Linked DNA regions of Homo sapiens: region 1 is linked to region 2. The links are contacts of gene promoters, found by promoter capture Hi-C in blood cells and fetal thymus (Javierre and others, 2016). All regions are on one chromosome and are shown on one strand. The core of a region is centred on a gene start or on the middle of the fragment in contact, and the rest is flanking DNA. Distances in the headings are between cores, read along the strand shown.

Evidence for each region. The method cuts DNA at HindIII sites, captures the fragments that hold promoters and counts their contacts. A CHiCAGO score of 5 or more calls a contact.
Region 1: a contact is called between a fragment that was not itself captured here and the fragment with the promoter of DUSP26 in region 2, in 5 of 17 cell types (activated CD4 T cells, total CD4 T cells, total CD8 T cells and 2 more). The highest score is 18.2, in activated CD4 T cells.

What each region holds. Positions count from the first base shown.
Region 1 is chr8:31,244,602-31,249,737 of GRCh38, forward strand. No RefSeq gene overlaps it. Among named protein-coding and RNA genes, the nearest start is that of WRN, 210 kb to the left of the region's middle. The HindIII fragment of the contact is 6,303 bases long and covers 1-5,136 here.
Region 2 is chr8:33,597,027-33,602,384 of GRCh38, forward strand. DUSP26 (dual specificity phosphatase 26) reads right to left here and starts at 2,997. Exons shown (of 4, transcript NM_024025.3): 1 at 2,639-2,997; 2 at 269-565. The coding sequence starts at 489. RefSeq lists an enhancer at 663-1,163. The HindIII fragment of the contact is 17,028 bases long and covers 1-5,358 here.

The sequences.
Region 1 (5,136 bases), core at 939-3,438, 2.4 Mb before region 2:
GCCAAGGCCGAGGAGGCGCCAAGAGTGAGCGAGGGCTGCCAGCAGGCTGTCATCTCTCACTAGGAGGTGGAGGCTGCAGTGAGCCGTGATCACTCCACTGCACTCCATCCTGAGTGACAGAGAGAGACTGTCTCAAAAAACCAAACCAAAACAAAACAAAAACACCATTCAGTGTGCTTAATGTTGCAAGAAGAAATAGAATAAAAAAAATTTGAAACACAATTTTGTGCATTTATCAGCACTAAAATGTTGATTGGTATAATTAAGTATGTAAATGAAATTGGTGGGATTTAAATATTTTGTAGCTCTGTGTACGTGAATGTGTCCATGTCTGTGTGTTTGTGCATGGTGAGTACAGTGAGTAGAATTTGGGCCTATAGATTAAAAAAACAAAAACAAAAACACAAAAACAAAAAAACACTGAGTTTCTCCCTGGGAAACTTTGTGAATGTGATTGAAGAATTGATTTATTTTTCACTTCTCAGTGATACACAATTTTTCTTTAAGCCTGATCGAGTTTCTGTTTGCTTTTCTTATAGAGTATTAAGGTTTAATTCCTGATCTTAGCTGTTGGATAAATGTGCCATTAACCCTGCTGTTTTATAGAATCAGGCCCGCCAGCTGTCCCTAATAGCTTTTCTCCCCAGTAGCCCCTTTGATATCCTGAACCAACAGTGTGCTGTGTGTGTCCAGGACTTGTATTTTGAAATGCCGTGACACCTAGTCCTTTATTGGAAGAGAGGGCATTCTCACCAAGGTGGGGTGTTTGAAAGTCCAAGGAAGCAGATGTGCTGTGAGAAGCCCCATAGATATTAGTATGTCCATTTATAGAACACTTAGAGAGAACCCAGCTGTGTGAGGATGCCACTGTGGGCTGAATTATTAAAGGCAACAGTCAGATCCAATAAAGTGCAGGAACCCAAGACAGAAAAGCAGTTATGAAAGAATTATTGACCTATCTAAAAAAAAAAAGGAAGGGAATCTGCAAATGCTAGCTTCCTGGGTCATGTCAGAGGTAAATAATCAGTTCGACTCCCTCTTCTTTGCAGAACTAAGGCTGCCCCTTGGTAGACTTGTGCCAAGCATGAGGATGGCCCAGGTCTCCATGCTACCTTCCCCTGAGAGCCTCTGCCTCTGTGGATAAGCCTTCTGAAGCACTGGGCGCCTCAGGCTGCCTGCTGCCTGCTGACGATTCTACTGAAGGGTAGATTCATGTACCACTTTTTCCTACTTTAAACTCAGTATTTCCCTGTCTAATGACATATGTACTTTTTGAAGCTCTGCTAACTGCTCTACGTGAACAATCAAGTTAGTTCTTCTATGTGTGTTCCACAATGACTTATATTCTTCCCACAGGTATAACATCTTAACTGTCAAAATGCACACTTCTGGCCTGGTATGGTGGCTCATGCCTATAACCCTAGCAGTTTGGGAGGCCGAGACAGGTGGATCACTTGAGGTCAGGAGTTAGAGACTAGCCTGGCCAACATGGTGAAACCCTGTCTCTACTGAAAATACAAAAATTAGCTGGGCCTGGTGCAGCACGTCTGTAGTCCCAGCTACTCGGGATGCTGAGGCAGGAGAATCACTTGAACCCGGGAGGCAGAGGTTGCAATGAGCTGAGATCTCGCCACTGCACTCTAGCCTGGTGACAGAGCGAGATTCTGTTAAAACAAAACCAAACATAACACCCACTTCTTTAAAAGATGGAAGAGTAATTCTTATGGCAACACAGAGCTGGAAGAGATGTTGGAGATAGTTCAAGTTCCATCCACTCATTTCATAACTGAGGCAAGCAAGCCCTGCTGAGGTGAAAGCACCCTCCAGAGTTATGCAACCACTTACTGCCTAGGCAGAAACCAGACCCTGCTCTCTTGGCTCAGAGACAAGTGCAGGGAAAATTGGTCACAACAGAATATAGGACTCAGATTTTAGTTGTTGTTAGGAGGCATAGGAGTGCTTCCCAAGTCACGGAGCCCTTTCTTATTTCCTTTTTATTTTTTTTTTGAGACAGGGCCTTGCTCTGTCACCCAGGCTGAAACACAGTGGCACCATCTTAGCTCACTGCAGCCTCAACCTTCTGTACTCAAGCGATCCTCCTACCTCAGCCTCCCAAAGTGCTGTGGGCTGGGCGTGGTGGCTCACACCTGTAATCTTGCTGTGAGCCACCATGCCTGGTCCACAGAGCATTTTTTTTTTTTTTTTTTTTTTTTTGAGATGGAGTCTCAGTCTGTCACCCAGTCTGGAGTAGAGTGGCACGGCCTCGGCTGACTGCAACCTCTGCCTTCTGGGTTCAAGCAATTCTCCTCTCTCAGCCTCCCAAGTAGCTGGGATTACAGGTGCCTGCCACCATACCTGGCTAATTTTTGTATTTTTAGTAGAGACAAGGTTTTGCCATGTTGGCCAGGCTGGTCTTGAACTCCTGAACTCAAGTGATTCACCTGCCTCAGCCTCCCAGAGTGCTGGGATTACAGGCATGAGCCACTGTGCTTGACTCCACAGAGCCTTTTCTACATGTAGGATATTATGCTTAAAGCTGGGAATAAAAAAGAAGGAAGATACTGATCTTTCCTTTGAGGAAGGACAGTATAAATATGCTTAAGCGATCCATCAATTCTAGAGGAAAAAAATATGCACAAACTGATTTGTGGATCAAAACTACCTCTTGAGATGCCGGGTCTCATACAACCCACATATTTCCTTTAATTACTGTTACCATCGCATTTTACAATTGTTTTGTGTCAAATGTTATAAACTCAAGGGTCACTGAAGGTCATTGAAGTATAGGGGTTACCTCATCTTTTTATGCTGACGATGAGAGTAAATTTTTTAAAATTAAAAAAATTTTTTAAGAGGCAGAGTCTTGCTCTGTTGCCCAGGCTGGAGTACAGTGGTGCCATCATAGCTTACTGCAGCCTCAAACTCCTGGGCTTAAGTGATTCTCCTACCTCAGCCTCTCAAGTAGCTAGGACTACAGATGCGTGCCACCATGCCTAATTTTTTTATTTTTTGTATAGACAACGTCTTGCTATGATGCCCAGGCTGGTCTTGAACTCCTGGCTTCAAGCAATCTTTTCTCCTCAGCCTCCCAAAGTGTTGGGATTACAGGCATGAGCCACGATGCCCTGCCGAGAATAAATTCATTTGAATTACTCTAAAATTTAGAAGGAAATGAAAGGAAATGGAAGAATCAGGTTTGTCTTGAAACTGAAGGAGAAATAGGATGGTTTAAAAATGAGGCTTTGGGTTTGACTTGAGAATGGAAATACTTGGGAAGTGAAAGGAAAACTAAGGAAAGGTTGTTAATTGAGCTGGAGGAAGGAAAGAATTTTCTTAGGAGACAAGCTGAGGTCTTACAAGTCAGGTCAGACAGATATGAAATATGTCATATCTGTGTTTCTTTACAGATGGGGCTTGGGAAGGGGGATCTTATTATGGTTAATAGATTGTTGTTTGAAGGGCAGCCCATTTATAAATGTCACTGTTCCCTGTCTGAATTCTGAACCAATTAGGTATGAAGGTGGTATGAACACAAGGCTCAAAGGGAAACTGGACATTAAAAGGCTTTAAAATAGGCCGGGCTTGGGGGCTCATTACCTCTAATCCCAGTACTTTGGTAGGCCGAGGTGGGCAGATTGCCTGAGTTTAGGAGTTCAAGACCAGCCTGGCTAACATGGCGAAACCCTGTCTCTACTAAAAAATATAAAAATAGCTGGGTGTGATGGTGGGTGCCTGTAATCCCAGCTACTCGAGAGGCTGAGGCAGGGAGAATTGCTTGAACTCGGGAGGCAGAGGTTGCAGTGAGCTGAGATTGCGCCACTGCACTCCAGCCTAGGCAAGACAGCAAGGATCTGTCTCCGAGAAAAAAAAAAAAAAAAAAGGCTTTAAAATAGATAAGGTGGGCATTGCTGGGAGAGTGAAGTCTCAGAGAAGACCGGGAGACTTGGAGGCACCACCTTAAAAATATCTGTATTTTGCTAGAAGGCAGAGATGTTTCAAACGTCCTTCTGGGAGAGGGTGCAGTATGTATAGGTGAATTATTTTACCTAGCAAAAGGTGTGCATCCCATCACAATTAGCTTTATTTTTTAATTTTTTTGTAGAGATAGGATCTCTCCATTTTGTCCAGACTGGTCTTGAACTCCTGGGCTCAAGTCATCCTCCTGCCTCAGCCTCCCAAAGTGCTGGCACTACAGATGTGAGCCACTGTGCCCGGCCACAGTTAGCTTTTTTATGGTATATTTCTCCTAATGTGATTCTGGATTGTGTTAAATACCAGATTTTGGGAAGATAATTTGTTTGGAGTAACTACGGTGGGGCTTGGTTATTTGTTTGTGTTCTCTACAGTTTGTGCCTGGGGTGGTAGGGCTTGCTGTCTTATTTTTCTATTTACTTTGATTCTTTGGATAAGTAGTTTAAGGGGAGAGACTTGAGTTTGGTTAATTCAACTTGGGAAGTGATGAAGGTGCTTATTTTGTGACATTTCAGGCTGTGTCTCCTGAAGCAGAGGCCTGACCCTCCCAGGCATCAATGTGAGACTCACTGTCTAAGGCTAAGCAGAATAAGAATTTTAGAGAGGGTGAAAATTTTGGGATTGATTTTTTTCAGCTATAATATATAAGAGGACTTATTTCTGGAGCCCGATTTCTCTCTATCCATTTACTACTTGAAAGGCTTCATATTGTTTCAATTTGGTACATTCTGTTATATAGTTGCTAAAGAATTTGGGGATTTAAAAATGTCTTTTGTGTTCCTTGCACACTTTTTGGTGAGGTAGATTAGACCATGCAGCAAGGCATGATCTGAGATGGGAAAGAGGTGTAGGGTGTTTTGGCTCAGGGTGCAGTTTGGCCTTGAAGTTAATTTAGTAAACATTCAGTTTGGGCCATTTCAGAGCCTTTAAGTACACAAATCTCAACCACATGAGCCCAAGGAATCAGGGTTAGGTATGGATGGAGAGGTCGATTGAAAGAGGAAGCAAGAGTTCCTTGACATGCTGTGGGCTTCCTCCCCCGAGAGAGGAAGCCATGTTGAATTTGGTTGTTACGGTGCTGAGGTAAAAGAGGAAAGGCTGTGTGCGTGTATGTGTGCGTGTGTGTGTGCATCTGTGTATGCATGTGTGAATTGGGAGGTGCTA
Region 2 (5,358 bases), core at 1,747-4,246:
CTGTACTCTAGATACTCCTGCCTCAGCCTTTCAAACTGCTGGGATCACAGGCAAGAGACACTGTGACTGGCCAGAGTTGGGCATTTCAATAATCCTGGCCAAACTCTCCCAAACCTGCAGCCTCTACTCTTGGCCCATGTGCCCTATCCCCTCAATCTTCAACCAGGAACCAATGACACCACTGCATACCTGTCTGCCACCCTTCTCCTTTCTTACACACACAAACACACACACGCTCTACCGTGGGCCCAGTCTGCCCGATACATACTGGTCTCCGAGATAGAGGCCTGGCCAGACCTCGTCGGCATGGTTACAGGCTGTCTTGCCTGTGTAGAGGAGCCGCTCCAACTCGAAGACATTGAGGAAAGGATGTTGAACGGTTGGCATCTCCTCCAGGGTCCCTCGAGTTCGAACAGGAGACCTTGAGCTACTCCGGGAGAAGCGGGCCATAAAAGTCATAGAAGCCCAAAGCCAGTTACCAGGGCACATCTTAGAGGTGGCAGAAACCGTGGCAGCTGCAGGAGTGGCTGTGGTGATGATGGGTTCAGTTGCCAGGTAGCTGCTGCTGGAAGAGGAAGGGGTGTGAGACACACTTGAGTGAGTCCAGAGCAGCTGCTTCCCTTCCCTGGGCTGGTCCTTCGGGAGAAGATTCTCGAGGGAGAGAAGGTAAGCCTGGCTCTGGCAGGAGCCTTCAGGGGTGGCTTTTTCTTCAAGCTGCAGCAGCTCCTTTTGCTCAGCTCTTTGGCTCTGCCACGAAACGAGGTGGGAGAGTCACATGTCCTTGTTTACGGGGAGAGGGAGCTGCCCAGCTGCTAGGTTTCAGCTTCATCACCCCACCCCCACTGCCAGCACGCATACACACACACACACACACACACACACACGGCACTTGGGTGGTTGTCCCCACTGCTGGGGATCTTGCCAGCTGGAATCTGAGTCTCATCTGCCTGGGGCTATCGGCAGAGAGCCTAGGGAGCTGGGATGGGGTTGGGGGTACCTTTAGACCCATCCAAAGAGAATTAGCAGGGAGACAACAGCAGCTGAGGCCATGACACATGTCAGGCCTGCCATCTCTGTGCCAGAGTTAGACTTTAACCCCTTCGTGACCTGCCACTGCCTCAGAGATAAACCTGCTATGGGAAGGGTGTGGTGGGGGTGGGATGGGGTGAGTGGAGAATAGCAATAAAGAGGAAGAGTAAGTTTGCAAAAAATAAATACTTGCTGAATGCATGAGCTTATGGAAGAAGGCACCAATCTATGTGCACAACAGGCAAACCACCCTCCTTGGATCAGCATTAGGAAATTACTGATCAGATCTCAGCTCTAATGTGAGAATTTCTGAATCTAAGCAGGGTTGGAGTGTTTTGTCTGTGTGTGTCTTGAGGGGAGGGTGACAGAGGTGGATGGTGGGGGAATTGACGCAGGGTTGGAGTGTTTTGTCTGTGTGTGTCTTGAGGGGAGGGGGGACAGGGGTGGGTGGTGGGGGCCTAGAAAGCAGGAAGGAAAGGGAAAAATGAGGGATCCTGCCAGGTCCAGGGGCTCAGAGGCTTAGAATTACCAACCGTATGGCTGTTGGAGTCAAGTGACCCTACAAAACACGAGGTCAATAACGAGGGGCTTAGCAGGTGTGTCTCAGATTACCTGTTGAGCTGCAGAGCTGGGAAGGACCAGCGTTTGAGGCTTGCCCTGGGACCTTCAGGCAGGGAGGCAACAATGGCAAGGCCCCTTCCCCCTCCCTCCCCATCCTCTCACACCTGTGGTCCTGCCTGTTTGAAAGCAGGAGGTCCTGGAGCCTGCAGAATCCCCTTCCACTCCCTTCCTGGCCTCCTGCCAGGGGGACTTCAACTCTATGACCAGCAGTGAGAGGCCATCTTTGTCCCTGCCCATGCTCTGTCCCCATCTCACACCCCTAGACAGGGCCCAGCTCTCCCTTGCTCCAGTGCCAAGAGAAACCAAGCACTTACAAGGCATTAGAAGCAGGGGTTTTAGGACCAGGATTGGTGAGGGAAGATTGGATGTTAGGGAGTTTAGGGAGAGAGAGTTTTCAATGGCTGGGTCCGGAAGGAGCACAGAAATATAGCACTACAGCCATCATCACCACCACCATCACCATCATCACTACCACCATCACCACCATCACTATCACCATCATCTTCTTCTACCTTTGCACCCAGGCCTAAAGACCCCATTACTGTATTGCAATACAACCTTTCCTCTTAGAGAGTCTGCTGTCTACGAGATGATGAATGGGATGGGGGAAGCGTGAAGGAGCCCAGGTCTAAGAAGGATCTCCGTGGGGCTGTTTTTCCCGGGGGATGCAGAAGCCCCTTTCTGTCCAGGGATACAGCCCTGGGCATTCTCCAATCCCATCCGTCGGCTCCAGGGGCCCTGGCCCGCCGCTCCCTCCCTCCGCCTGCGGTCGCCTTTGTAACAGGTCCATGGCTGTCGCCCCAGTCCTCGCCAGCCTGGCAGCCGGGCCCCGCGCGCGGAGGGAGGGCGCCCGGGAGAGAGAGGCTGGCTCGCTGGGCTCGGGTGCCCGCTTCCCGGTCCCCTCCCTCCCCCGTCGCCCCTAGCTGGGCGCCTCTCCCCAGCGTGGAGAGCCAGCTGAAAAGGCGAAGGCCCGCCGCAGCCCCTCTACCTCTTTGCAAGCGCTGCGCTGGGCCTCAGTCCGAAAGGCGGATCGCCGGCGCAGACAGCGCCACGGCCATGACGCTCCTGCTGCTGTCGCCGCCGCTGTTTCTGCCCAAGACAGGTTGACAGATTAGCAGCTATTTTTAAGCCATGACACACACGTCGAAGCAGGGTTCAAATCAGCGTGTGCGCTGGTGACATAAAGGGACTCGGTCTCACATTCGGTGGCCCGAGTCGCCAGGCAGCGTGGGCTCCCCAGCCAACCCCCCACGAGCCCGCGCGCCTTGCAGACCAGACACGGCCCCGCCGAGCCCCAGCAGCACCGCCTGGAATGCATGCGTGTGTTCTCAGAGCTGCACCAATTACAAAGCGTTTTGCCTAAAGATTACATTATAAGTCATCCCAGGCACTGTCTTAAACACACACACTCCTCCCAGACAGAATTAACTAATTACATAGACACGATTCTGTGCACTGGCTTGTACATGCCTCGGTCTCAAGAAACCGTGTCATAAAGAACAATGGTCCGAAGCCCCCATTAGCCTTCATTATATGCCATGTGCTTCATTTAGCTTAAGGCATTTTATACTCCCCACAAGTCTATGAGGGAGACATAATTACTATTGTCCTAATTTTAGGGAGGAGGCGACCTAGGCACAGAGAGGCTAGGTACTCTGCCCTGGTCACACAGCTCGTTACTGGCAGAGCTGAGCTTGTTCAAACAATGCAGCCTGGCTTTGCAGTTTATGTCCTTAACCACTCTCTAAACCAGTGCCTCCCACAAAATGGAGAAGGCACCATGGATTTCCTTCATTCAGGAAGCCATTTCCACCAGCTCAGCTCATAGTGAACTTCACTTTCCCCAGACTCTCAAAACATTCATCTTCATATTTCTTTCTTTCTTTTTTGAGATGCAGTCCCACTCTGTCGCCCAGGCTGGAGTGCAGTGGCGCAATCTTGGCTCATTGTAACCCGCCTCCCAGGTTCAAGCCATTCTCCTGCCTCAGCTTCCCAAGTAGCTGGGATTACAGGCGCCCGCCTCCATGCCTGGCTAATTTTTTGTATATATTTTTTCTTTGTTTGTTTGTTTTTTAGTACAGATGGGGTTTCACCATGTTGACCAGGCTGGTCTTGAACTCCTGACCTCAGGTGATCCACCCACCTTCTCTCAAAGTGCTCAGATTACAGGCATGAGCCACTGTGTCCGGCCATCTTCATATTAATTTCTCATGTGCTGCCTTCTAGTGACATATTCACTTGATCGGCATTTTTATTGTAAGCACCAAGATTGTAAGCACTTTGAAGGCAGGGACTGTGCTACCTTCCCCAGTGCCTACCTTATTGTGTGAGAGGGAAGTGGGGGAGATGATAAATGTTAGCAGATGATGCTGTTGAGAACTAGGCTGGCTTGAACTCTCGCTGTCTACTAGAAGAAAGGCAGAAAGTAGATTGGCTCAGATTGAAGCTGATGGTGTCAGCTATAGCTGAAACCAGGACTGACTCCATTCCCAGCAGTGGTGGCAGATCAGGTTTTGATCTCTGGGTTAGAGAAAGTACTGGCCAATGTGACCAATCCCCAGGTTCCATGACAGGCTGCCATCCAAGTTTAATGTACCGCCTAGCCTTTTTTTTTCTCTAGAGAAACAAAATTCTTTTCACTTTTCCTTGTCCCTTGTGTTACAGCAGTTTAAATATGAAATGAAATCCTTGTCATTTAAAACAAAGAGGCAGGGCATGGTGGCTCACACCTGTAATCCCAGCACTTTGGGAGGCCAGGGTGGGCAGATCACCTGAGGTCAGGAGTTCGAGACCAGCCTGGCCAACATGGTGAAACCCCATCTCTACTAAAAAACAAAAATTAGCCGGGTGTGGTGGCAGGCGCCTGTAGTCCCAGCTACTTGGGAAGCTGAGGTGGGAGAATCACTTGAACATGGAAGGTGGAGGTTGTAATGAGCTGAGATCATGCCACTGCACTCCAGCCTGAGCGACAGAGCGAGGCTCCCTCTCAACAAACAAACAAAAGCGAAAATAAACAATCAAACAAACAACAAAAAACCCCAAGGAATTGACCTGAGAAATTTGAGATTTTAATTTGCGCATCCAAATTAAAATTTGGATTTAATTTGCAAACCTAGTTAAAACATTATCATAAAAGGAATTGTGAAAGAGCACTTACAAGATCAATATCTTTTTTTTGTTTGTTTGTTTGAGACGGAGTTTTGCTCTTTTTGCCCAGGCTGGAGTGCAATGGTGCAATGTCAGCTCACCGCAACCTCCACCTCCCGGGTTCAAGCGATTCTCCTGCCTCAGCCTCTCAAGTAGCTGGGATTACAGGCATGTGCCACCATGCCTGGCTAATTTGGTATTTTTTAGTAGAGACAGGGTTTCTCCATGTTGGCCAAGCTGGTCTCGAACTCCCGACCTCAGGTGAAGATCAATGTCATTTTAAGTGAAAAGTCTTCAAGATTGGTAGGTTGAGAGGATGTTGTAGGTAAAGCTGATCTCAATCTTTGACAAGACCTCTGTTTCAACCCTGCATTACACTTTTTTCAAAAAGCGGGGAAAATACAGTTTAAAGTACACCACAGACAATGTGTACAGCTGTTTATGGGTAATTATAGAAATTACCTGGGGACTGACATATCCGTGAGGATCATTTTCATGAGTCGATCTATAGCCCACTTGATTTCTTTTGTTTTGTTTTGTTTTGTTTTTTTGTTTGTTTTT